Linked DNA regions of Homo sapiens: regions 1, 2, 3, 4, 6 and 7 are each linked to region 5. Evidence: promoter capture Hi-C in 16 types of primary human blood cells and fetal thymus (Javierre and others, 2016). All regions are on one chromosome and are shown on one strand. The core of a region is centred on a gene start or on the middle of the fragment in contact, and the rest is flanking DNA. Distances in the headings are between cores, read along the strand shown.

Region 1 (3,469 bases), core at 690-3,189, 320 kb before region 5:
ATAAACTCTGTGTTTTATTCTAGACTGCTTTTTATTGCCTAATGAATAGATTTTGCTTTGTGAAGACACAGACTGTCATGCTTTCATTTGATTTCAATAATTATGGGAAGGTTTCAGTTCTGGGCCAGGGAGTTTTACTATCCTCTGACTTAATCATGCTTCAGAAAAGGAGCTCTGTGTATTTATTTTGTAAAGCATTTTTAAAGCTTTCAGGCTATAGTCAATGAATGGCTAAAATCCAGAATACTGTAAACTCATCTTTTTTCCCATTCCACTGACCAAAGGGGTGTTTGAAGATTACCATCTGATTAACTGTCCCCACACTAAGAATGGGCTTTAGTGACAGGCAGAGTCTGTGGGACAGCATCATGCCTCTGACAGCCACTTTTAGGGAAGGATGTTAAAGAACCCCTGCTTTGTGTCTTTCTTAGTCATCATATGCCACATTTCCAGGCAAAGGAGATGAGTATCCTCTCTTCTAGGGATCTGTGAGGGGACCCCAGGGCCTCCCTTTGTCCTTCAGTGCTTGCTTCTCTGGGTCTCTTCAGACTCATTCCTGGGCTGGCTCAGGCCAGAGCTTGAACCCTGCTGAGAAAAGGCATTTTCAGTGAGCTTGTTTAGAATAGGCCAATCACTCTGTTTATTTTGCCTGAAGGGACTTGGGGAAGGGAACAGGGACATCCTAATACTTTTTAAAGATAAGTACTTGGTTTTTTGTTTTCCCAGGAGATCTGGCTAAAGAAAGCAGATTCATCTTAAAGCAGGAGCAATTTAGATAAGGAATGAGAAAGAACTTTTGGATGTGATCTACTGGTCTACCTCCCCATGAAGTGGAGTTTTCCTAGGAAGAGCAGACAGCTCAGAGCTATCTGCAGGTGAAAAGATAAACTATATTACCATTCAAGTTTGCTGTTGGCTCTGTAATTTCTTTCTGGATATGGTTTCTATTTTTGCAGCAGCAGAAAGATTTGATTTCAAAGACGGATAGGAAAACTACACTTGGGTGAACCTCTGGGGCACACATTATTAATTTGAGGTCCCTGGACTCTTCTGGTGTGCATCAGAGGTCTATGAACCTCCAGAAATTGTATGTGAAATTGTTGGGGAAGAACATTCACAGCTGCCACCAACCTCACAAGGAGCCTGTGATTAAAAAACAAACACAAAAAGAAACAGGAAAGAATTATTGTTCCAAGGGAAAAGTTCATTTAGTTAGGATGAGTACCTAACTCTAATCCTATTTCTTCCCAAGGCTTTGCAATGTGGTGGGAAGATGAGGAAGATGACTGAGAAGGGTGGTACAGAGTCCTCGTCACTGCTGGGGGGCTGAGCTACTGGGAGGCAAATGCAAGATGCCTCCAACCTCATTCATTCAGTCATTTGTTCAACAAATATTTATTGAGCACCTACCATATGCCAGGCACTAATCTAGGGTTTGCAGATACAGCAAGTAACAAAACAGATAAAGATTCCTGCTTTTATGAAACATTTATGGGGGAGCAGGTAATAAATAATAAACACAGCACAAGTGTATTACACAGTAGTATAGTATAGAGTGGAGGAGCTGGATGGAATGAGAGCAGTTTGCACTACCATGTAGGGTAAATCTCAAAGAGAAAGTATTATTGGTTGGGTGTGGTGGCTCATGCCTGTAATCCCAGCACGTTGGGAGGCCGAGGAGGGCAGGTGGATCACCTGAGGTCAGGAGTTCAAGACCAGTCTGACCAACATGGAGAAACCCCGTCTCTACTAAAAATACAAAATTAGCCGGGTGTGGTGGTGCATGCCTGTAGTCCCAGCCACTTGGGCGGCTGAGGCAGGAGAATCACTTGAACCCGGGAGGTGGAGGTTGAGGTGAGTCGAGATTGCGCCATTCCACTCCAGCCTGGGCAACAAGAGTGAAACTCCATCTCAAAAACAAACAAACAACAACAACAACAAAAACAAAGAGAGAAAGTGTTATTTGATCAAAAACTCAAAGGAGGTAAGGCATTAGCCTTGAAGATATCTTGTATGGGGGAAGAGCATCCCCACAGAAGGAACAGGCAGCTTCCTCCTAAGACTGGCAGGCTCTGGAATATTTGATGAATGGCAAAGAGGCCCGTGGGGCTGAAGCAGAGTAAACAAAAGGGAGAGTAAGTAGAAGAAGAGGTGACTCTGGGAGGGGGAGGCAGGCCAGGTAGGGCCTGAGAGTCTGTTGTAAGAACTTTGGCTTTACTCTGAGTGAAATGGACATCCATTTTAGGGTTTTGAAGAGAGAAGGTACATGATCTGACTTACACTTCAATAGGATTGATTTGGCTGCTGCCTTAAGGATAGACTGCAGGGGGAAGGGTAGAAAGAGGAAGATCAGTAAGAAGTGATGCAGGTGAGAGACAATAATGGCTTGGAGCACGGTGGCAGCAGTGGACATGGTGAGAAGTGGCAGGATTCTGGATGTATTCTGAAGGGAGAGCCAACATGGGATTTTCTTATGGGATGGGTGTGGGGCATGCATCAACACTCATCAGCTTCTCTTCTTCCATGTCTCCCCATCACTGGGTGCAGAATAGGCGCTGTCTCAGCCCTCTCTCTCTCCCGGTCTGGATCTGTGCTGTCCAGTACAGTAGCTACCACCACATGTGGCTGTATGGAGTACTTGAACGTGGCTAGTCTGAACTGAGATGTTTTTTAAGTATAAAATACACACCACATTTGTACCCCCAAAAGGAATGTAAAATGTTTTATTGTTAATTTTAAAAATATTGATTACATGTTGACATGATATTTTGTATATATTAGATTAGATAAAATATATTATTAAAGTATGTTTTATATCTTTCTTTTTACTTTTTGATATGGCTAATAGGAAATCTAAAATTACACACATAACTCACATTATATTTTATATTTCAATTGGACAACACTGGTCTAGAAGATATTTGAGAGACCTATGGTCACATTTGAATTAAGGGTTCCCCTGGGCTTATTCTTTCAAGACTGGAGAGGCAGACATGAAACTCCTACCCAAGAATGATAAAGAGCCATAAACTTCCAAAATATGTGATCTTCAGAGCCTCGTATGCTGCTTCCTTTGAAAGAAATGAGCCATTTGCTCATGGGCAGAGACTCTGAGGTTGGCCCATTTAAGCCTCAACAACCAATGGCTGGACATGGCTTGTAAGAGGCCACTGTTCCAGGCGGCCAGAGATTGATTTTCCTCCATCATCAGCAAAAACACACTTTTAAGACCCTCAGTAGCATTCCTCAGGTGCAACATTATGACCTCCAACTTGAAATATCAGTTTATATTGACCCAGTGGCTTCATGTGAATGTCAACCAGAAGGGCTGGGTAGTATCTGAGCATCTCTGTTGAAAATGTATGCATGCTGGAGCTGTGCATGTCTAAATTCCTTCCCCCACTTACTTTGCTGCTTAGAGAGGCCTTGCACATACACTCTTCAGTCAATGGCAAATGTCTATTTTATA
Region 2 (3,256 bases), core at 46-2,545, 490 kb before region 5:
TTAATCATGATCTGGCTTCCCAGGTTCACAGTTCAATGATGACAATGATGGAAATTTTCTCTAAACTCTACATGAACCGTAGGAGTTGAGAATTCATTTGTTTTCAATGTACTATTTCTTTTATTTTTTTTTTCCAGAAAAGAAAATCCCAAAGCAAATTTGTGCTAGGGTTCTTTGAACTTGGCTCTTTTACCTCATGGTTGAAGATCTTGAAAGAAGTATGTAGGATACCACTGGGTGATGTACTTGTCAAGGCCCTGAAAAGTAGCCTACCATGCCATTCTCCCCCACTCTCAAGTAGCACTTTTATGTTATGGGAATCAAGGGGTGGGAGGTATCATTATTCCTGGTAGTTATGGGTTTTTAATAAATATCATTACTGCAATATCAGACTTCAATCTTGCCAGAACTTCAAAAAACATTATTCAATTTTTGTCTTACGAAACACTTAAAAAAAAAGACTATCACTTGAGAATTTTCTTTGCAATTTCCTGTAAATGAAAACATTTGTTAAAAAGTTCATCTATGAAAAGTTCTCACATATCTTAAAAAAAAAATTCTTCTGTACACTTGTTCCCATAATTATGTTGAAATTAATGGAAAATTTAAAAAGCCAATGTAAGACAAAGGAAGGTAAATACTGTACACTTGCTGAGAACCTCTTCCACCATAAGATTCACTGTTTTCCCAGTTCTGATCATAGAAGCCATTTCAGTCTTGAACTTGCAGTAGTAAAGAAGCTGTGAAAGGCACAACTTGTTTGACTGAGAGGCCACAGGTGCACTGAAGTGGGATTCAACACGCATGACTCAGCATCAAACTGTTGGACCAATCAGATCAGCTTCTAGTACCCCCACACACGCTCACCCACGTGTTCCTTTAAGTATCTATAATCCTATATGGATGTTTTATAAACTTGCTGTCTCACATTAAAAAATAAGTGCATCAAGTATCTTTGTACATTCAAGTCACTTCCTAAGGCAAATTGTCTACCATATGTACTCCCAACTGCTTTGGTATTTGCTTCAGTTAATTGGGGTGGACTTGGGTGTTGCTGCATGCAGGTTAATCGACTCAGAGTGGACTAAGTGGGTGGACAAATGCTGGGAGCATGCCTTAGATCAATCTACTTGTGTGTTTAGAGTCTGAGAGTTCTGAATGGGGCCCAAACCACTTGCATGGCCAGTCTACACTCACTACATTATGTCAGTGTGCAGCCTTCAAACTGAAGGAGCTTAATTAAGATGTGAAAATATCACATGCCCTCATAACAAGTGTTGTTCTTTTTACTTTCTTCTAGCCAACTTGTTTTAGAAAATTAAGACTCTTTTTGATGACTCAGACTGACAAAAATGGAAAACTTTGCCTATGTAGACTAAAGAATGCCTACTGCCTGAGAAAATGCAGACCTAATTGTTGGTTTATTTTCTCCTCCTTACCCCACCCTGCTCTCTCTTTTTCTCTCTGGGTATCTCACCAGAACTCTCTGTCATTACATCTCCTTCTCTTGCATTCCTTTTCTTTCTCATTCTTTCTCTCTCTCTCTCCTGCGTTATCTTTGTGCTCTCACTCTCTCTCACTCTCTCCCGCGCTCTCTCTCTCTCTAAGACAAATGCCTCTACCTAGCAGAAGTCAGTTGGGTTGGCTAGTGCATGGTTTCCAAATGTTCAGCAGAGATGAACTGGGGTAGGTAATTTTGCAGGAATTTGAACCCTATTGTGGAAATACTGTTATTTCCCTTAGCAATCAGCAAAAACTGAGAAATTTAGTGACTTGCATCACCATGACACAGTATAGCATTTGGCAGGTAATTGTTCAGCGACTTAACTAGATGAATTGACTTTTTAGAAAAGGTGATTTCAAATTGAAGAATTTCTGGAAACAAAGTTCAGATCCTGTGGTGTGGCTGGCCTTGGTTTTTACAGTTCAATCTTGCATGCAGGGAAGGATTCATCTTGCATAACCACTGTGCTGCTGCTTGCTAAAACCATGATGTTGAGATCTTGCTGTTTCTCATGGGTCTCCTGGTACCATTCCCTCATCACTTCTGAGTCATGAGTTGGGATCAGTGTCACCTGCAGGGAGAGAAAAAAAAAATAGCTATTTAAGGGCAGAAACAGAAACCATATGAAAAAAATTGAATAGCAAGGTATTAGACCACTGGAAGAAGAAGGGAAATGAGAGAAAACTTTTCTATTTTCCTCAAGAAATGCAAAGGATTTTTCAATGTATATTTTCCAGGAACCAGAATAAAGCTGCAAAGAAAAGCTATTGTTTCTAAGGGAAACTGAAGGCTGGAACCAAAAAGCAATTAATCAGTTTCTCAGTTCTTTACTGTTAAGAGAAGTGCTTCCGTTAGGGTACAATTTTTTGTATTTCCTTTAACACAACTGGTAAGTTTTGCATAAAAGATATTGCATATTTAATCCAAGGATTTTATCGCGCACTTCAAAGCCCTCAAAAGCCCACTCATTGTGAGTAACTAACATTTTGTCCTGAGAACAAAGATCTGCACCTTTACTTTATGTGTGTGGTTGGGGATGGAGGTATGGGGTGGGTAAGTAATGTCCTGAATAGTATAAATTCCATCTAGCATTCAGTAGGGAGCCACTGGGTGCCTCTCATTAGATTTCATATGATTAAATAACAAGTAATTCTATATAATATGATACAAGCACAATTTACTAGGTAATTTTGTACAGAACCACAAATAAAACTTGATAAGCAAAGATCACAGCTGAATTAATAATAGCTGGTTCTAAGAATCATTTAAGGCCAGGAGTTCGAGACCAGCCTGGGCAACATAGGGAGACCCTGTCATTAAATAAATAAGGGATGGTTTGTGGTCAGGCATGATGTTTGGGAGTTGGGAGTGTCCTGTGAGGGACTATATTCAGCAATGCTCCTGCTGTGGAATTTCACATGGAGAGCTGTTTTTCTAAATGGCCATATTCCTAGCCGCAGTCTACTCATAAAACACAAAGGAAGAAAGGCAATTCCTCAGGAGCTCTCATATGGAAATATGACCGCTTTGATTCACACACACAAGACTCTTGGCATACTGGAGGAAGGGCAATTAATCTTAGGCCCATTTTGCAGATAAATGGTTTCTGCTTTAGTTAAGGTGTCTTTCCTCCAAGGCCGTGGTTGGTGGTGGTGCCAAGAATATTATTTCAGACTACCTACTGTGTGTTAAACTGACTTTGTTCTCAGGATATTTCGTGTGTGACAGACACAGGAGGCACCTCATGTGGAT
Region 3 (3,785 bases), core at 392-2,891, 380 kb before region 5:
CCATCCTTCCCTCCAACACAGGCTTTCCCTTGCTTTTCCTCCTGATGAGAGCACTACTTTTGTCCATTTTCTGTTGCTGTAACAGATTACCACAGACTGGGTAATTTATAAAGAAAAGACTAGTTGAACTCTATGCTCCACAGGAGCAAAGAACATGTCTATCCCCACCCCCACACACCCTTTTCACACCCACCCAGCCACCCATATACCTTAGCATTCCTCTTGCTCAGCATAGGGCATATGCTCAGTCAAAGCATATTCAATGACTAAATGAATGGCTTCTATGAGCCATGGTAGTGTGCTAGGTGCTTAAAGTACTTCAGTGAATTCCCACTGGTATTATTTATATTTTTGATGGCTTAAAGTCTGTATTGATGTCTCTTTCTCATTTCTGATCTCGATAATTTGTATTTTCTTTGTTTTTTTCTTGATCAGTCCAGCTAGGGGTTTATCAATTTTGTTAATCTTTACAAAAACCTACATTTGACATTATTGATAGTTTTCTATTTTATGTATGTGTATATATATTTTCATTGAAGCTGTTTTTATCCATGCTGTTTTGCTCCTAATTTCTTTGGGTTTTATCTTACTTCCTATTGTAGCTGCTTGAGAAGCTTAAGTAATTAATTGTCAGTTTTCCTTCTTTTCTGATAAATACATTTAAGGCTAAATATTTCTAACTCCTGCTTTAGCTGCCCTGTACACATTTTGATGTGTTGTGTCTTTATTGTCATTATCATTCATTTCATAACATTTTCTAATGTCATTGTGATTTCTTTTTTGCCATTAGTTATTATTATTGCTGTTTGACAGATGAAAAACTGACATGGAGAAAAGTTAGACAATTCCTCCAAATCACAAAGATAGTAAGTTGAAAACTTGTGAAAAGAACTCTGCTATGTCATATTTCAAAGTCTATGACCTCCCCTATATGGTACCTTCACTGATGCTATTGAATTTAAAGCAAATAAAGGAAATGAAGCACAGCCCAAGTGTTGATTGGTGGGAAGAATAAAACAGTCAGAGTAAATCTCACATTGAATGAACCTCCAGTGTTGTGTTGTTAGTTAGAATTAAAGTCATTCTCTAGAGTGTAACTTAAGACAGTATGTCATTTAAGGGTCAAGAAATAGTCTGTTTACTCAGCATTTATCAGTCCTTTCTTTCCAAACTTTAAGCTAGCTATAGAAAAATTCCAGAGAGCCTGGGGAAAGAAACAAAAGGAAAATTAGGGAAAAGACTTACAAGGTATGAAGTATTAGAGAACATTTTAAAAGGATAATCTATACGCTATGTCATTGATGGCTGCAGCCATTCTCTATGCCCATAAACTAAATGGGCCTAACTCTTAACAGTGGCTATTAGGTTAGTTAGAAGAGGCATGTTTCTGAAAATTCCATAGTGAACTTCATAGCCAGAGGAAAATATCTTATACTTCTTTCTATTCAATCATCCTTGACTCCGAAAGTGCCTCTTATTTTCTTTTGGTGGAACAGTGGAAAAAAAATATCACACTGGAAGGCCAATTGACTGAAATCAAGTCCCTTTTCCTAACTGTGTGAACTGGGTCCTTCACATCACTATCCTTCAACAACAAGAAAAACAAAAAACATCCTATAAATGTATAAAGAAGAAAATGAAAGTTCTTTCTTTGCTACCCCTAGTTCTCTTCCCCTTCCTAGAGGCTAAACTATTTTGTGTGCATGTGTGTGTGTGTGTAGAATGTACACATATATGTAGGGGATTGGTTCTAGGACTCTGTCCCCTGTGAATACCAAAATTCAGGGACGCCTAAGTTCCTTATATAAAATGATGCTTATAACCTACGCACATCCTCCTGTATACTTTAAATAATCTTGATTACTTATAATATCTAAAACAGTGTAAATGCTATGTAAATAGTTGTTATACTGTATTGTTTAGGAAATAATGACAAGAAAAAAGTCTGCACATGGTCAGAACAGATTCAACCATTCTTTTTTTATATATTTTTTTCTGAATAATTACAATCCATGGTTTGTTGAATCCACAGATGCAGAACTGGTGGATATGGAGGGCTGACTGTATACATGTATCTTCCCCATATAAATAGAACAATATTTTATATACTGTTCTTCAAATGGCATTTTCCCTTTGAAGCTCTTTTCAAATATGTAAAAATCTATTTTTAAAAACTGCTGCACAGTAGCTCATAGAATGAATCTACCATATTTCCTTTACTCTTTCCCCTCTTGGTGGTCCTTTAGGTGGTGTTTGGTTTTTTTCTATTATAAATAGTGTGCAATGACCATGCTTGTAAGTGCTTCTATACTCATATATGTTTCTCTGAGCACAGATGCCTAGATCTAGAAGCCAAACAGATGGGTTGAAGGTGATACCTAATTTTAACATTTGATGACTCCTGCCAAATTACCCTCTGAAAAGAATTTAACAATTTATATTCCTTCCACATCATTGCCTCTTTCCCCACATCATAATGTAAGTCTTCTTATTTTTTACTCACCAAAGGGAGAGAAATATTTACTGTTTAAAACTGAGCACCTTTTAAACTGCTTTTCTTTCTTTATTGGCTTAACTCTTCAAGATGTGTCTTTTTTCTGATTGGACTATTGTTTTTATCTTTACTGGCTTTTAGAAGCTCTTTATATAATCTGGATAATAAGCTTTCGTCATCAATATATGTTGCAGATATTTCCTCTCAGTGTGTCATCAGATTTTGTATTTATGTCTATTTATTATGTCTGTGACCATACAAATTATTAAATTTCTTATAAGGTTAGGCTAAGCTTCTTTCTTTATGAGTTAATGGGGGTTGTCTGTCTTAGAAAGGATCTCTCATTCCAAACCTTAAAACTATTCTCCTAATAATTTTAGATTTGTTCAACTGAGAGAGTGCTTAACTCAGGAGATCAATAAAGGTTCATAGAGGAAGAAGTATTTGAAATTGTCCTGGAAGAACAATATTTTTCAACAGGCAGAGATGGAGAAAGGACAATCTACATGAACAGAACAGCATGAGCAAAAAGAACTGGTAGAAATATATTGAGCTTATTCTTGAAAATAGCTAGCAGTTTACTCCTCCTTTCTTTTGTATACTAACAGCAGCACACTGAACAAACTGTTCTGTCATCTTGTTTTTATCACTTACCATATCTTTGAAATATTTCCATAACCATCATAAGGAGTATCCCTATTGCTTTTTGAGCAATGCATAGAATTCCATTTTGTGTGAATATCATAATTTATCACTCTTCTATTTTTATCACTCCTCTGTTGATGATGACTTCCAGTCTTTTGATAATATAAACAGTGCTGTAGTAAATAAAGTTCTGTATATGTCTTTTCCCACAGGTTAGAGACTATCCATAGGATAAATTTCTAGCAAATTGCTGAGTCCAGGATATGCATGTTTGCAATTTTGGAAGATCTTAAAAACTTGCCTCCTATAGGTGTTGTACCAGTATATACTTCTGCCAGTAATAGATGGGTGGGCTGCTGATGCCTCAAAATGTAAGTATTTTCAAACTTTTAAATTTTAGCCCATTTAACATAATTTAAAAATTATGTCTCTGTGTGATTTTAGTTCCATTTCCCTTATTATATATAAGACTGAACATCTTGGCATATGTTTAAGGGCCATCTGCATTTCCTTTTCTGTGCACTGTCAGCTTATATGCTTTGCCCATTTTTTCTAGTAGATGGTTAGTGTTTTTCTTATTGATTTGTATATATTCTGTATTACTCCTTTATCACATTGCCACAAAGAAATGCCTGAGATGGTGTCA
Region 4 (3,587 bases), core at 909-3,408, 340 kb before region 5:
AATAAAAAATTAACCAGGCATGGTAACATGTAACTGTGGTCCCAGCTATTCAGGAGGCTATGGCAGAAGGATTGCTTGAACCCAGGAGTTTGAGGCTGCAGTAAGCCATCATCAAGCCACTGCACTCCAGCCTGGGCAACAGAGCAAGACCCTGTCTCAAAAAAGTAAAAAATTAACCAGATTATGGTGTGAGTTCTTACATCACTAAGCCTCTGCATGACTGGTTACTGGGTGCTTTACCCATGTGTTCTTTCCCCTATTCTACGATCTTGTTAATTGTATTCTACCAAACGGCAGACCTACAGCCTCAATAAGCAGCCACACAAGGACAAGTATAACATGTTAGTGCATACCCAGCTCCGTCAAGTTCTAGTACTTCAGAAAGTATGACAAACCAAGTAGACGCATGGTAACATTAATAAAAAGTAGAGGTCATTGATAGAAGCCTGGGAAGTTGGGGTGACATCAACCAGAGAGTCCATTACAACTAAGGATGTCTAGTCCAGATTGGAGGCTTCCAGGTATAAATCAGGGAAATTCATGCACAAACCAGGACATGTTTCTGAGGAAGCTTATTCACTGGTGTGGTGAATAGGGTCACACGATGAGGGAGAACTCAAGTAGTAGAAACTTCTGGTGGAAATGTTAAGAATAATCCCACAGGACTAGCCTCCTCTCACTTTTATCTCATCCCAGGATGAGATATACTAGGTCCTGGACCTCTGCTGCTTAGGACAAGTGGACTTGCTCTGTTTTCTCAGTTGCAAAATTAAGCAATTGGACTAGATACTCCCTGAAACCCTTTCCAGCTGTAATATCCTGAATTCTAAGACATCCTTACTTTATTTGTTCCCAAGCCTCCCCAACTCAACCCACCTCTACCTCATGTGACTGCACATATCAGGTGGCCTCACCTCCAAGTAGGAAGAGTCAGGGAGTTAGGAGAACATTATCCCTTAACCATTGGTGTTTCAGCACCACGGAGAGCGACACGAACGCGAAACTACTCCCCCATCCACTTTGCCCCCAAACCCTTAGATATGCCTATGCCCAAGTCATAAATATATCTCTAAAATAACCATTAACATATTTATTACAGAAATGAAGCCATTTCAATTTCTATATCTAACCCTATTTGCTCCCTTAGTCCTAACTCGATCATCAGTCATCAAGTTATAACAAGCATTTTCTTGTGTAGCCAAGCCCCAGGCCATTGAAGAATATTAGAGGTCAGTGGGTATAAACTCCTCCCAACATAGGAAACTCTCCTATACTATCTCTAGTGAGGGATATCAAGTGTCTGCCTGGTTACTTCCAGGTACAAGAAGCTTGGTACTTCATTGGAGATGACAAAAACTCTATTAGAAACTCATTTCTTTTATTGAGCTGAAAGCTGCTTACTAATAACAATTCTATTGTATTCAGATCTAGAATATGACCACTTCTTATCCCCTCCACCACTAGTCTTCTGGTCCTAGCCTCCATAAAGTTGACATGAAGGATTAAAAGGAGTAATCCTTTCAAGGTCTATGTCATACTCATGTCACTTTACTGCTCTATACTCTCCAGTGTCTCCCCGTTTCTCTCAGAGTAAAAACCAAACTCCTTATTATCATCTAAAAGGTCTTTCATGATTTGCCCCTCGTTTCTTCATCTATCTCTAACCTCATCCCCTACCATTCTTTCCTTCACTCACTCTGCCCCAGCCACACTAGCCTTCTTTGCCGTCCCTTGAACACCAAGGACACTCCTGCACTGGGTACCTTACATTTGCTGTTTCCTGTAACAAGAATGCTCTTCCCCAAGATACCTGCATGGTTCATTTTATCACCTCTTTTTAGTCTTCCCAAACGCTGCCCTAACAGTGAGATCTTCCTTGGCCATTCTGTGTAAGGCCCCACACACTCTATATCTCTGTTCACTCATAAGCAGTGATTGGTAAAAGCTGGTAAATATTTAACAGCCCATTTGGAGGAGGGATACTAATTTGTAGCATTTGCTGATTTCTGTGATGCAAATAGAAATTGCACCACCATAGCCAATTGCAGGCTACCAACGTGAGGTCACTGAAGGCAGAATTGGGAAAGGCTAACATTTTGTTCTGATGAACCCAAATAAACCAGATTAGCACACTGCTGCAGGTCGTAGAGGAAAGGAGCATGCACTCCTGGGGGTGAGTGCAGTGGTGGTCATGGGGTTGAATCGAGAGAATCCCAAAGGGAGGAAACACTGATGGGGAAAGAATTTTCCTATAGTAGGAGCATCTAGCTTTACTTCTGTCTTTCCAGTTGCTTTTGGAACAACTAAACCTTGGTGTTCTGTCTGCTCCTTGAATACCACGTGTTAAAAGCCAAACCCTTGCTTACCCTATCAAGCCAACATTTGCTAATTTTTCTTCTTCTGTCCATGGCACCACGACCTCTCATTCTTCCTTGCCATATATATATATATACACACTCCCAGTAGTCCAGACCCTCCAGGCTGATAGGACCATGGTATTTTGGAATAACTTATCTCCATAGCCAATGAGGACATGTGGATGCTTATAGATTGTATAGCGGGGTAAGCTGAGTGTATCAGGAACTGTCTATTGCTCTTTTCTCTGGTCGTCTGCATTTCACATTCTTGACTATAAGGGCTTTGGAATCACTGAGCCCATGTCATCTCTGGCTGTGCAGTGGACTGGTTCTGTATTTCCAGGACCATCTGACAGCACCTCCAAAGTCCCAGGACAACTGTCCTCACCCGTCACTCTTCAGCACATTGGTTTCTTGATCTTCTAGGATTATACATTCTCACTACCCCCAAAAATACACTTATGCACATTCCTATAACATTTTGCATCTAACTTAAGGATTACGCAGACTGCCCATGAAGCCAACTCACTGAATTCCTCAGTAGTCATGGCCCCCAAGTTAATCTCTAATGTCTTCTACTAGTTCTAATGCAGTACGATTACTTTATTCTTTTATGCTCCCCCAAGCTTAGTCAGCCAAGCAAGAGAGAAAGAGAAAGAGAGACAGAGAGAGAGAGTTAAATTATTCTTACTTAATTGGTCCTCTCCAGCTAAATATTGGGTCTTAATTATCAAATTAGTAAAGCATCTCTATGTTATTCATAATATGCTTACAAAAAAATGGATATGTTTTTGTAAACTATGTTTCACTGAAGGGTTTGACTAATGAGTTAATACAAAAACACTGAAAGCAAATTATATGATTACAACTCTTTTCTATCATTTAGAATGTTTATTTGCAATAATCTAATGCAAATAAAAATAGCTTCAAATAAGATGCTCAGTTTCATTTTTAAAAAGAGAAATGAGCTGTTGCAGTTGGTTTTAGACACTTATTTTGATTTTATTTTTTACATTGTGGTCTTTATGATGTAAATATATTACAAACTTCAGTCATTTTACCAAGAGATTATTTTTATTATTCTTGACTAACTCCTTTATACCCTTCAACATTGTCCTTTGCTTCTCAAAGACAACTCAGAATTTTTCAGAATTTGTTTTTTTAAAAAAGAACAACTACACAAAAATCAATCTTTTGATTAGAGTCTATACAGCCATTCTTCTATCACAA
Region 5 (3,503 bases), core at 357-2,856:
TTCTTTACACAAAGGTACACAAGAGTTTGTCAGACAAATAAAATAAGAATACTTCACACACGTATCAACACCATACAAGGCATTATTCTTCACACAGTAACATCTAATGTGTTCTTTTATTTTTGAAACAGCAGGAAAAGAGCCCTTTCCCTTCAGAGGAAAATAAAAACTTTATCTGTTGCTTAAGCCAAACTCCAGGGAGGAAGGTGTGGTCCTCTGGGGAAAGTAGAGGGATGGGGATGTATGGAGGAGAATGGACGCCCCTTCATAAGCACTTCAGGAGGAAGGAATTGCAGGAGGTTCCTCGGGGACAGTCACACAGCTTCCCGATCCTTGCCCCTTTCCTCACTGCACACTGCTCACCGGCGTCACACTGAAACAACAAAATGTGTGGTCATCGAGTATGAACAAACCCAGGTTCCCAACAGGCAAGTCTCACAGTCAACGCAATTTCTGTCTCTTGAAAGGGGCAATTGGACCCCATCACCATCACAAGAGGTCTACGTACAGTCAGATCTGAAACAGGGAGCCTTGTGCTTATAACCTCAGTGAGAGTACATTTTTTAAAGAAACTTACATTATTAGTTTTATCCTAGTTTCTTCCACCTTTAAGTGGCGAGGGTTGGGGGGCGTGGGAAGGGGAGCATCACATTTCCTGGCTCCTTTTCTTGCCCTCTCAGAGGGGAAAAAAATCAGACCTTTTTCCTGAGCAACAAACAATAGACTTACACTTTCTTACAACCCCTGTTCCTGCTTTCCCATTTCCTCACCCGGGAAGGAAGAAGGAGCCCACAGAATCCTGCAAGCCCATTACCTAAGTTATTTAGCCACATCCTACGGAGAAGACTGTGTGTACGATTCAAGGCGGTGTACTTTCTCTTGGAAAAACACGGGAAGGGAGTGACCACAAACCTTACCATGGGGACTTGGCCATACTTCTTCTCATAGATGGGAACACGTTTACTCTTGAGCTTCTTCAAGACTTCTTGCAGCGCTTCGATCTGCAACACACCGCTTCGGAGCCTGAAGTTGCCGCCTTGGCTGCGAGCCCAGCCCAGGTGCGCACTTCCAGCCCTAGTTATAAGGAGCCCCGGACCCACACGCACTCTGCGGTGGGACTCCGCGGACACAGGGAATGGTCGAGGGGTGGAAACTTAGCGGACGCTGTCCCAGGTACTGACCGCGGGTCTCTGAGCCGCTGGGGTCCCTGTTGCTCAGAGGGGCCGGGATGAGGGATTCGCTCAACAGACTGCCAGGAGCCCGTGAGCTCGAGACGCTCTTCGGATGGCAGTGGGTGCCTGGGCGTTGCGCTCAGCTCCCCGCGCCCTGACTCTGGGAATAGGAGTGGGGGTGGGGGGAGGAGGGAGGCGTGCAAGAGAAGAGACAAGGCGACAGCTCAAGGGGGTCGAGAGCGAGGGGAATACCGACCAGCTCCTTCTCGTGGGAGGCATCATCCACGGCAGAGTAGATGTCCAGGGCTCGGGGCTGGAGCTCGGCGTCCTCCTGGGCACGGGTACCCAACAGAGGTAGCATCAGCAGCAGGGCGGCGCCCAGGAGGGGCAGCAGCCTCACGCGGGAGCTCTCCATCGTTCTGAAACTCGTCGTTGCTGGGGCACCACGCGCTCCCACCTTTTATAGTGAGCCCGAGCCCCCGTGCAGGAAAGAGGGAGGAGGCGAAGAAGGAAGGGGGTGTGGAGGAGGGCCCGGGTCAACCGTCTGTAGGCAGCGCTCCGCCGGCGCTTGACGTCAATGCCCGCCGGGTTCCAGGCGCCTGGGAACGAGGCTCTGCGCACAGATGGGCTAGAGCGCAGAGAACAGGACCCTGCGCCCCCAAAGGCTGTCAGTCTCACGGCAAGGGATGCTCCCCGAGGGGCCTGAGCTGAAGCCGAGGGGCTAGAGGTGAGGGACGGGAAGCGGGAGGGGCCTAGGAAATGGAAAATGCCTTCGGGTCAATGCACAGGCAGGAGAGTCGTTTCCCAACACCTAGCAGTGGTGACAGCTGCAACATCCACCTCGCCAGCCCTGCCTTGCCTCGCACCCCAACCCCAAGTGTGGCGGTGAGAAGGGGGTGTTGCCTCCAGACAGCCACATTTGCTGAGCACCTTACTCTGTGGGGTAGGGGAAGCAAACATACTATACAAAAGAAAGAGAAATAGTGGCCCTCCACGTGATGGGTTCTATGATGGAATCTGTGTGACAATAGTTAAAAGAAGAGAGGGAAAACAGACAAACCCGGATTCAGCAGTGGTGTTGGAAGTGCAGAGAGCCAGGCTCTGGTTCCCATCCTGGCTACACCACGTAAAAGTTGTATGACTTTGAACAAAATGAAGAACCTCTCCAAGCCTCAGCTTTCTCTTTTGTAGATCTAGGATTAAAAAGATATACCTCACAAAGTCATCAGTAGGATGAAATGAGAGATTAAGTATGTCAAACTCCTGGTTCTTAGCTAAGCTTCCCTGTCCCTCCTTTTTGAACTTTGAGGCTGCCCAGGCAAATTTAACCATCCCCAGAACCTCCCCCCACCCACCACCAACCCTTGGTATCCAAGAAGCCTGTCTAGAAAGAGAGTAAAAGAGTGAAAAGAAAGACAGCTCCATGATTATGAAAATATCTCCAGAGATCAGAAGTCAATGGTGAACCAGCTCCCCAACAACTTGGGAGAACAATGTGGCTTTTTTAAAAGTTGAGATCCTTACAGCCTGAATGCACAGGAAAATTCCTGTAGGAAAAGCAATGCTTTCCCGCTTAGACCTGCTTGCTCACCTGGCTTCCTTCACCACACCATCTTTCCCTCAACTGTTCCTAAATTCATCCACTCTTCTCCATCCCCATTACTACAACCCAGTCCTAGACAGCTGCCCCAGTCAACTTAATGTCTACCACTTAATCCCCACCCTATCTTCTCTTGCCTTCCTCTACTCCATAGTTCACCACCAACCAGAGTATTTTTCCCCTTAAAATACACTAATGACTCCTAATCTTACTAAGCACTGAATCTAGATTCCTCATCCTGACTTGCAAAGCATTATATGATCTTCACCCCTCTCCACCTCATGTTCTACCACTCTGCCCCAGACTCCTCCACTCCAACCTCACATGGCCTTCTTTCTGGTCCTCTAGCAGGCCAATCTCATTCATACTTTGATGTCTTTGCACTTACCCCTCCTTGAAAGGTCTTCCTGTATTTCCAAAAGGCTCACTACTTCTGTTATTTAAATCTCAGTGTAAATATCTATGACTACTCAATCCAAACCATCTATCAATACTTTTCTCCCACAAATTTATTGCATAGCAGATTATGTGGGTCATTAAGATAGTTTAATACACAATATATGCCTGGTTACTTCAACTATCAAGTATTTAATTGGTACTCAAATACTCACTGGGAAGCAATTCAAGAAGTGATATCTCTTCTAATGAATAGCACACATATTAACAGCATCAAAATATTTTGCTGTGGGGTAAACCCAACTTGAAAATGTATCTAACACCTCCCTCAGCTC
Region 6 (3,607 bases), core at 48-2,547, 360 kb before region 5:
TATCTTACGAATGATAGGAAGCTATGACAGCTACAACCAGGCTATGGAAGAAGAGGAAAAGGAGAAGCAGAGAGGCCAAATAATATTCCATTTGAGAAGTCAAGAGGAATGGATATGAGACCCTAACTTACAGAGTATGGAGAGGACAGTGAGAACATATCAGTAGCTCCCTGGGGCCAAAGTCCAAATTCTTTGACATGACTTACAAGGTTCCCCATGGTCTGTCCCCTCCCGGTCTCAATATCAATATCTCACCATCTTTCACCAATCACAAGTTCCTTTAAGCTCCTTGAACATGCCATGTTCTCTCTCACCTTCAGACCTTTGCATATGCTTCTCTTTTTGCCTAATATAATGATGAAGGCAATGATGATGCCGATAGCTGACACGTCTAGAGTGCTTGCCATGAGTCTGTTACTGTTCTAAGTGTTGGCATGTATTAACAATTTTCCAGAAGATCCTCCATTTTTTGGAGCAGTGCTGTATCTTCTCTCATTTTCTATGGGAGGCTAGTCTTATTGTAATGGGGTACTGAACTGAAATTACAAGCATGGGGTTTTTAGCCCATGCTAACGTTTTTGAGGCATACACCTTCTTGCAATATACTTCTATTAGAAAGTAAAAAGATGGCTACTCTGCATTTTGGTATGTATGTTTCTGTGTCTATTTTTAGAAAAATTAAAACAACTAAAAATGACCAGGAAATGATTTCACCATATTGTGACCTAAAGGCAATGTTATTACCTATTTTGTTCATCCCCGACTATATCCACAGCATATAAAACAGTTCTTGGCACATAGTAAAGACGTGATATATATTTGTGAAATTAATGAGTGAATGACTAAATTGATGAAATTTCTGTAGGGATATGTTGTAGTCCCCAAGTCAGCTCCTTAACCCTTGGCTCTACCTCTTTTCTTCACTCATAGTCACACCCACCAAGACCACAGCCACCCACTCACAGTGTAGTCTTTTCTCCTGTGGTCTTCTTCGAGGGTCACAGTGACCACAGCAGAACAAGAGTAATGAACTCAGGGAAATGTTCCTGTTAACTGTCTCCTCATCATGCCTGGTTGCTAGCCCTCTAGTGCCCAGGGTGTGGTGGGACAGGTGGAATACTCTAAAGGAAGTTAGGCATCTCAGAGGACCAGGCTCTGAGAGTGGAGGTGTGGGAGGGTGAGAAAGAGCAGTGCTTGACATGACTTGTCTCCAGATCTTGTTGGTGAAGGTAATTCTAAGATTCTAATTCTAAGACTCTCTAATGAAGATTAGAACTCAGGGGATGCAGCCTCTGTAGAGGGTATTGTCCATGTATATCTAGCCCTGGGTTTTGTGGACAAAGACCTGAAGGCCAGCTGCCCTCCTTATAACCTGAGATTTAGGGTTCATCCTCCTCACCAGGTGATGGTTAGAGCCATGAGCCAGCATGGCCAAAGGCACTTGGGTGAAAGCATAACCATGTGGGTGAGGTGGCTGGTGGGACTAATGGGCCTTAGAGACAGAACCAAGGCATATGGGAAAAAGAAGCTCTTTGCTTGTTTTACCCATGTCTTATAAAAACATGCCTGGCACTGGGACTTCAATGAGAGGAAGCTGAGGCACCTGGCCTCAGTTCTCATCCATAAAGGAAATCACAGCACACAGGCAAAGTGACCTCTCGGCTGGCATCTCCTAGTGGCCTGTGCACAATTCGGTTACTTCACAGGCTTCTAAGAGTGAGCCCCAGAAAAAGCACTGTGCTCTGTGATCTAACTGAGAACTTGAACCAGCTGTTCTTCTTGAGCCATTTATTTCAAGTCCAGCTCTCCAAACTGGATTTCAGAAGGATGTGCTGTTCCACCTGCCTCCACTTCCCCCTACAGCACATGTTCCAAGAACCTTTGTTCTAGCAATATGGCTGATGGGGCAAGGTTCTGAGATCTATCAAAAATAGATGTTATTATGTCAGTGATATAAATAATGTAGCTCCAAAATGGGGAAATTGATTTGAAGACTATAATTAAATGTAGCTCAAATGTTGTTGAAGGCTAATCAATATAGCTTCAGTTTGACTCTTTAAAGCTCTGAATTAGAAGGCAATGAATCCTTCTCTACTGCATTAGAAATGCACACCATAAGGTGAAGGGAAGGTTCCCAGGTTAAGCGCAATGGCAGCATGGAACAGATGTCAAATGTGTTCTGGGGTTTAATGTGTTAACTATAGTGCTTTAAATGCAAACGTTAGGATAACCCTCATTTGAGCACACGTGGATATGTTTCTAAGTTATTATCAAATACTATATTAAAGTTTTCACATTCATTTTTTAAAATGCTGTAAAGGTGAATGAATCCTTCTTAGCAGCCACCTAGTGCCTTAGGGCCTGCTGTGGAGGATTCTGGGTCCATGTTTTCAGCAGTCGTCAGCTGACACCATCTTTGTTGAAAAGGGACTGTCAGGGACACTCTCCTATAGGTACAATTTAAACTTTCTTTTTTTTTAACTTCTATTTTAAGTTCAGGCTTACATGTGCAGGTTTGCTATATAGGTAAACGTGTGTCATGGGGGTTTGTTGTACAGATTACTTCATCACCCAGGTATTAAGCCTCGTACCCATTAGTTATTTTTCCTGATCATCTCCCTCCTCCCACCTTCTACCCTCTGATAGGCCCCAGTATGTGTTGTTCCCCTCTATGTGTCCATGTGATAACTTTCATTTTTAAATATCTCCAAGTAGACAGATTCCCAACTGTTCTCAGTGACTAGTCCAGATTTGAATAGCTAAACCATAGAAAATAATTGCCCAACCATAGGGGACAGTATAGAGAACTAATAGTACATTCGCATGGCAGAATACTACGTGGCCATAGAGAAGAGAAGGTTCTTTATGGACAGATATCAAAAGACCTGTAAAATATACTGTAAAATGAAAAAAAGCAAGGTGCGGCCAGGCACAGTGGCTCACGCCTGTAATCCCAGCACTTTGGGAAGCCGAGGCAGGAGGACCTGAGGTCAGGAGTGTGAGACCAGCCTGGCCAACGTGGTGACACCCAGTCTCTACTAAAAATACTGTAATCCCAGCTACTCAGGAGGCTGAGGCACAGGAATCAGTTGAACCTGGGAGGCGGAGGTTGCAGTGAGCCAAGATTACACTACTGTACTCCAACCTGGGTGACAGAGTGAGACTCCATCTCAAAAAAAAGAAAAAAAGCAAGGTGCTAAACGTAATGTGCTACCATTCGTGGGAAAAGTGGCGAGTAGATATACATGTGCTGTGAATGCATGAAAGATCTCTGAATGGATACACAAGAAGGTTGAAACTGAGTGGCTACAGCATAGGGTGGCATGAAAGACCATTTATTGTCTATCTGTTTAAATTTTGACCCATGTGACTGCATTACTTATTCAAAAGTTGTTTAAAATAAAATCATAATTCCTCACCTAAGGAAATCCTACATTTCTTATACTACATTTCAAATTTGATTTCTAGGCTTAAAAGTCAGGTGGTTTCACATACTCTCTAAGCTTTCCCTTAGAAAAATAGCCCATGGGGCAAGGTTCCCTCTTGATTTTCCTTGGCAAACACTGTCTTTGAGAAGTTTCTCTCTCACAGGAAAATTAACAGGGAG
Region 7 (3,346 bases), core at 104-2,603, 410 kb before region 5:
ATTCAATTCTACTGTTCTGAGTTTGGGTTCCAAGTAGGTAGCACGGTGTGCACTCATCTTGCCTGAATGCATGTCTCTTGAACTATATTTCAATAAAATGCCAGTATCTACCTAAGGGGAACAATATGTCCTTTTTTAAAAAAAGACTGTCTTTGAAGATATTATTCTATTTGGGTGGGAGAAGAAACAACAGATTTGTAAGTTCATGTCTTCTATAAATAATTTAAGTATATCTTGGGCTAATGTATAAATTTGGTTTAGGAAATTCTAAGTTAATTCTAGATAAATTTTAGGTGTTTGTGTAAAAGAAATGACTGTATTATTGGATTCTACAACTTTGAAAAATAATAATCCCACGAGGGATTATTGGCAACTCTCAATTAGCTAGAATATTTGATTAACCAAAACGTATTATCCATGGATATATTATCATTAATGTTGTTATTGTACATAAATTATTTCTTTCTGTTATTTTAGAATACTTGGTAAGCTTTGTTGTAAACACATAATATCACACCTAGGTTTTTTTTTAACTTTTTTAAAATTATACTTTAAGTTCTGGGATACATGTGCAAAATGTGGAGGTTTGTTACATAGGTATACACGTGCCATGGTGGTTTGCTGTACCCATCAGACGCCTAGGTTTTAATGAGTGAATTAACACTTTTTTGCAAATATGATCAAATTAGGGATGGAACAAATTGAAGTTTTTACCTTAAAGGTATTAAAAATCAACAGCCATTCAAAGATATATTACCACAAAAATCACTTTTCCTTCTGGATAATCATGACTTTCTGATAATGATTACCTGCATGTAAATTGTACACTGTCAGTAATAATCTGATTCGAAAATTGCTTCCTTCCCAAGGGTGTTCATATCTGCATGTACTAACTTGCTAAATTATGGTGTGCTAATTGGTAGTTCACATGACAAGATATGCACAGTTGACCATGCTTATTAAAATTCAGGCCATCCGCAGTTAGCGATAACAAACAATGTGCCTGGGACTTTTAACACCTTCAACCTGCAGATAATCCCTAGAACTCTTGAGGTTCAATCTTCAGCCTCCTTCCAAAGATCAGTGAATAAGCAGCTAACCTGAAGCTCAATGCAACACCAGATACCAACATGGAAATTCTCATTTTAATGGGAAACATATGTAGCTATTTCCTATTTGGCACTGTGAAGATAAAACACCCATGAGCTGACTTTGGGGATAGTCTCTATGCAAGTGTTTGACATTGTGCAAACATGATTAAATTTTGTCTTGTTTGGTTTGTCTGCAAGGTAAAGACAGGTGGGAAAAGCCAGGGCCAAGAATTCCCAAACTGGGAAATCAGCCTGAGTGTCATAAAGCTGTGCATCTTTCCTAAAATTAAGAATACTCATGGATGGGACAGGCAGTTTTTTCTAAATGAAATTCTTTCATTGATATTTTAAAGCCTGGATTAAAAGCCATTGTAAGCTGAATGAAGTAAGACAAGCTCCCATCTACATACGAGTGATGAGACAATTTAGTAAAAATTCATAGAATAATGGAATAAAAAAACTGGAAGGGACTCAGCAATCATTTAATCCATCCTTTCCCAGATTGTGTTTTACAGGAATCTAGATCCATGGGAGAGAGTGGTGATAGAAGTGACTAGTCAAATAGGCTAAGGAAATGTATGGTTAGACAAAATTGAACAAGTTTATACACATACAATTTATGCCTCCTCAAAAAATTAGATGGAGTATGTCACAGTTTTCAAACTTAAGTCACCATGAAATTCTTTTCCACTGACTATTAATGTTTTGCAGAACTAATGGCTGGCAGAACAAAGTTAAGATGACCTGATCTAGCCTAATCCCTTTATTTTACAGAAAAGGAAAGGACTGACAGCAGCTCTTCAGGGAGCACCATGGGCAACAATGCTCTCAGGTGTGGCCCAGAGCTGCTGCACTAGGTCAGGCTTCCTGGTCTCTCCGGAGGGGGAAGGGTCCTGGAAAGCAGCTTGCAATTGGTGTCCCCTCCCTGCTTCCCTCAACACAGGGACAGCTGAATCAGACACTCTCCAAAGTACCCATTCTAGCCTCAGGGCAGTGAAACAATTACTTCACATTTATTTCCTTAAAACATTTCACTTTCACAATCTCTTCCCTAGTGTCTTCAGAGTCTGCCAATGGACAATTTTCCAGCACTCAAAGATAAAGACAATCTTGAAATTAAGCTTATACATCCAGGTCAGGAGTTTTGTTCTCACATGATTTCAGAAGGGTGAATTCTTAAATTATCGATTCTAACTCTTCATCATTGAATTAATGGGCTTAATCTAAAATGTAGCTCCAAACTAGGAAATATTTTAATTCAGGCTGGATTCAAAATTCCCTGGTCACAAAGATGATTCAGTGCATTAGGATCTGTTGCATTTATGCCCCAATTTGCATGGATAATATTATTTTAATGCTTTTTTTATGCACACAGATTTTTTTAAAATAGCCTGAACAAATAGAATTTACAGAAGGACCTCCTTGCAAAATTCTCATTTGGCACTTATTATAGACTGGCTTGTTTCATTAGTTATCTTATTTCCATACTCAATTGTAAACAACTGAAGACAGGATTTACTTACAAGTCTTCTTATGGCCTGCAGAGCTAGGAACTGAACTGTGCCTTGCTGCAGGAACATAAATATTTAATGACAGATTGGCTGATAATAGGACACTAACAGGACACCTTCAAAAGGAGATACCATATAAAATGAAAGGATTGTCTCCTTTATAATAGATGAGAACAGATAAGGTTTTCTCTCTCTCTCTTTCTCTCATGTATGCAAACACACACACACAAACACATATGCACATTATACTAAACTAACTACAAGGCACTTGAGCATCTTGTGGGGCTGCTGGAACTTCACACCAAATACCACTTTCAATTGAATTGCACCACCAAAAACTCCTAGTATTTGAGCTGGGAAACTATCTGGAATTCTAGATAAAAAAGCGGTTGCTACATCATCCCTAAACAGGCATCGAGCTCCATTAAAAAGAGGAAGAATTCTCTTAGGCAGTTTTCACATCTTTCACACATCAAAACTTCCAAGTGAGAGGTTTTTAAAAGGCACAAGAGACAACTGCTCAAAATGGCTCTGCACTAAGGAAGCATTGTTCGCCTGGGTTCCAGAACTTATTTGATCTTTAATTTTATTGCAATAAGGATAACTTCTCCAAATGTGACATTCCCATTGATGGATACACTTCAGGATCCAAAAAGCCACATCTATGTAGAGCAGTGTTCCTGGGGCCAGGTGCACTAAAAACGTGTTGCTCCCTCAGGGGAATAGCTGTTCCTTCCTCGCACT

Evidence for each region. Contacts are between HindIII fragments. The CHiCAGO score rates a contact against its expected background, and 5 or more counts as called.
Region 1: a fragment that was not itself captured here is called in contact with the fragment with the promoter of CARTPT in region 5 in 1 of 17 cell types (M1 macrophages); the score reaches 5.1 in M1 macrophages.
Region 2: a fragment that was not itself captured here is called in contact with the fragment with the promoter of CARTPT in region 5 in 2 of 17 cell types (M2 macrophages and M1 macrophages); the score reaches 6.5 in M2 macrophages.
Region 3: a fragment that was not itself captured here is called in contact with the fragment with the promoter of CARTPT in region 5 in 2 of 17 cell types (M1 macrophages and M2 macrophages); the score reaches 6.1 in M1 macrophages.
Region 4: a fragment that was not itself captured here is called in contact with the fragment with the promoter of CARTPT in region 5 in 3 of 17 cell types (M0 macrophages, endothelial precursors and M1 macrophages); the score reaches 7.3 in M0 macrophages.
Region 6: a fragment that was not itself captured here is called in contact with the fragment with the promoter of CARTPT in region 5 in 2 of 17 cell types (M1 macrophages and M2 macrophages); the score reaches 5.9 in M1 macrophages.
Region 7: a contact is called between a fragment that was not itself captured here and the fragment with the promoter of CARTPT in region 5, in 3 of 17 cell types (M2 macrophages, M0 macrophages and megakaryocytes). The highest score is 7.3, in M2 macrophages.

The regions. Positions count from the first base shown.
Region 1 is chr5:72,037,810-72,041,278 of GRCh38, reverse strand. No RefSeq gene overlaps it. Among named protein-coding and RNA genes, the nearest start is that of MAP1B, 68 kb to the left of the region's middle. The HindIII fragment of the contact is 3,462 bases long and covers 209-3,469 here.
Region 2 is chr5:72,203,903-72,207,158 of GRCh38, reverse strand. It overlaps MAP1B (microtubule associated protein 1B), which reads right to left. Exons shown (of 7, transcript NM_005909.5): 7 at 1-2,075. The coding sequence ends at 1,920. Among named protein-coding and RNA genes, the nearest start is that of MIR4803, 36 kb to the right of the region's middle. The HindIII fragment of the contact is 6,181 bases long and covers 1-3,256 here.
Region 3 is chr5:72,098,004-72,101,788 of GRCh38, reverse strand. LOC105379028 (a long non-coding RNA gene) reads left to right here. Exons shown (of 3, transcript XR_007058813.1): 3 at 1-3,785. Among named protein-coding and RNA genes, the nearest start is that of MAP1B, 7.6 kb to the left of the region's middle. The HindIII fragment of the contact is 2,049 bases long and covers 617-2,665 here.
Region 4 is chr5:72,060,807-72,064,393 of GRCh38, reverse strand. No RefSeq gene overlaps it. Among named protein-coding and RNA genes, the nearest start is that of MAP1B, 45 kb to the left of the region's middle. The HindIII fragment of the contact is 1,655 bases long and covers 1,331-2,985 here.
Region 5 is chr5:71,717,378-71,720,880 of GRCh38, reverse strand. CARTPT (CART prepropeptide) reads right to left here and starts at 1,606. Exons shown (of 3, transcript NM_004291.4): 1 at 1,429-1,606; 2 at 918-1,001; 3 at 1-373. The coding sequence starts at 1,587. The coding sequence ends at 266. RefSeq lists an enhancer at 582-1,468. The HindIII fragment of the contact is 2,457 bases long and covers 1-2,453 here.
Region 6 is chr5:72,079,734-72,083,340 of GRCh38, reverse strand. No RefSeq gene overlaps it. Among named protein-coding and RNA genes, the nearest start is that of MAP1B, 26 kb to the left of the region's middle. The HindIII fragment of the contact is 4,416 bases long and covers 1-3,505 here.
Region 7 is chr5:72,124,804-72,128,149 of GRCh38, reverse strand. All of the region lies in intron 2 of MAP1B (microtubule associated protein 1B), which reads right to left. Among named protein-coding and RNA genes, the nearest start is that of MAP1B, 19 kb to the right of the region's middle. The HindIII fragment of the contact is 1,722 bases long and covers 493-2,214 here.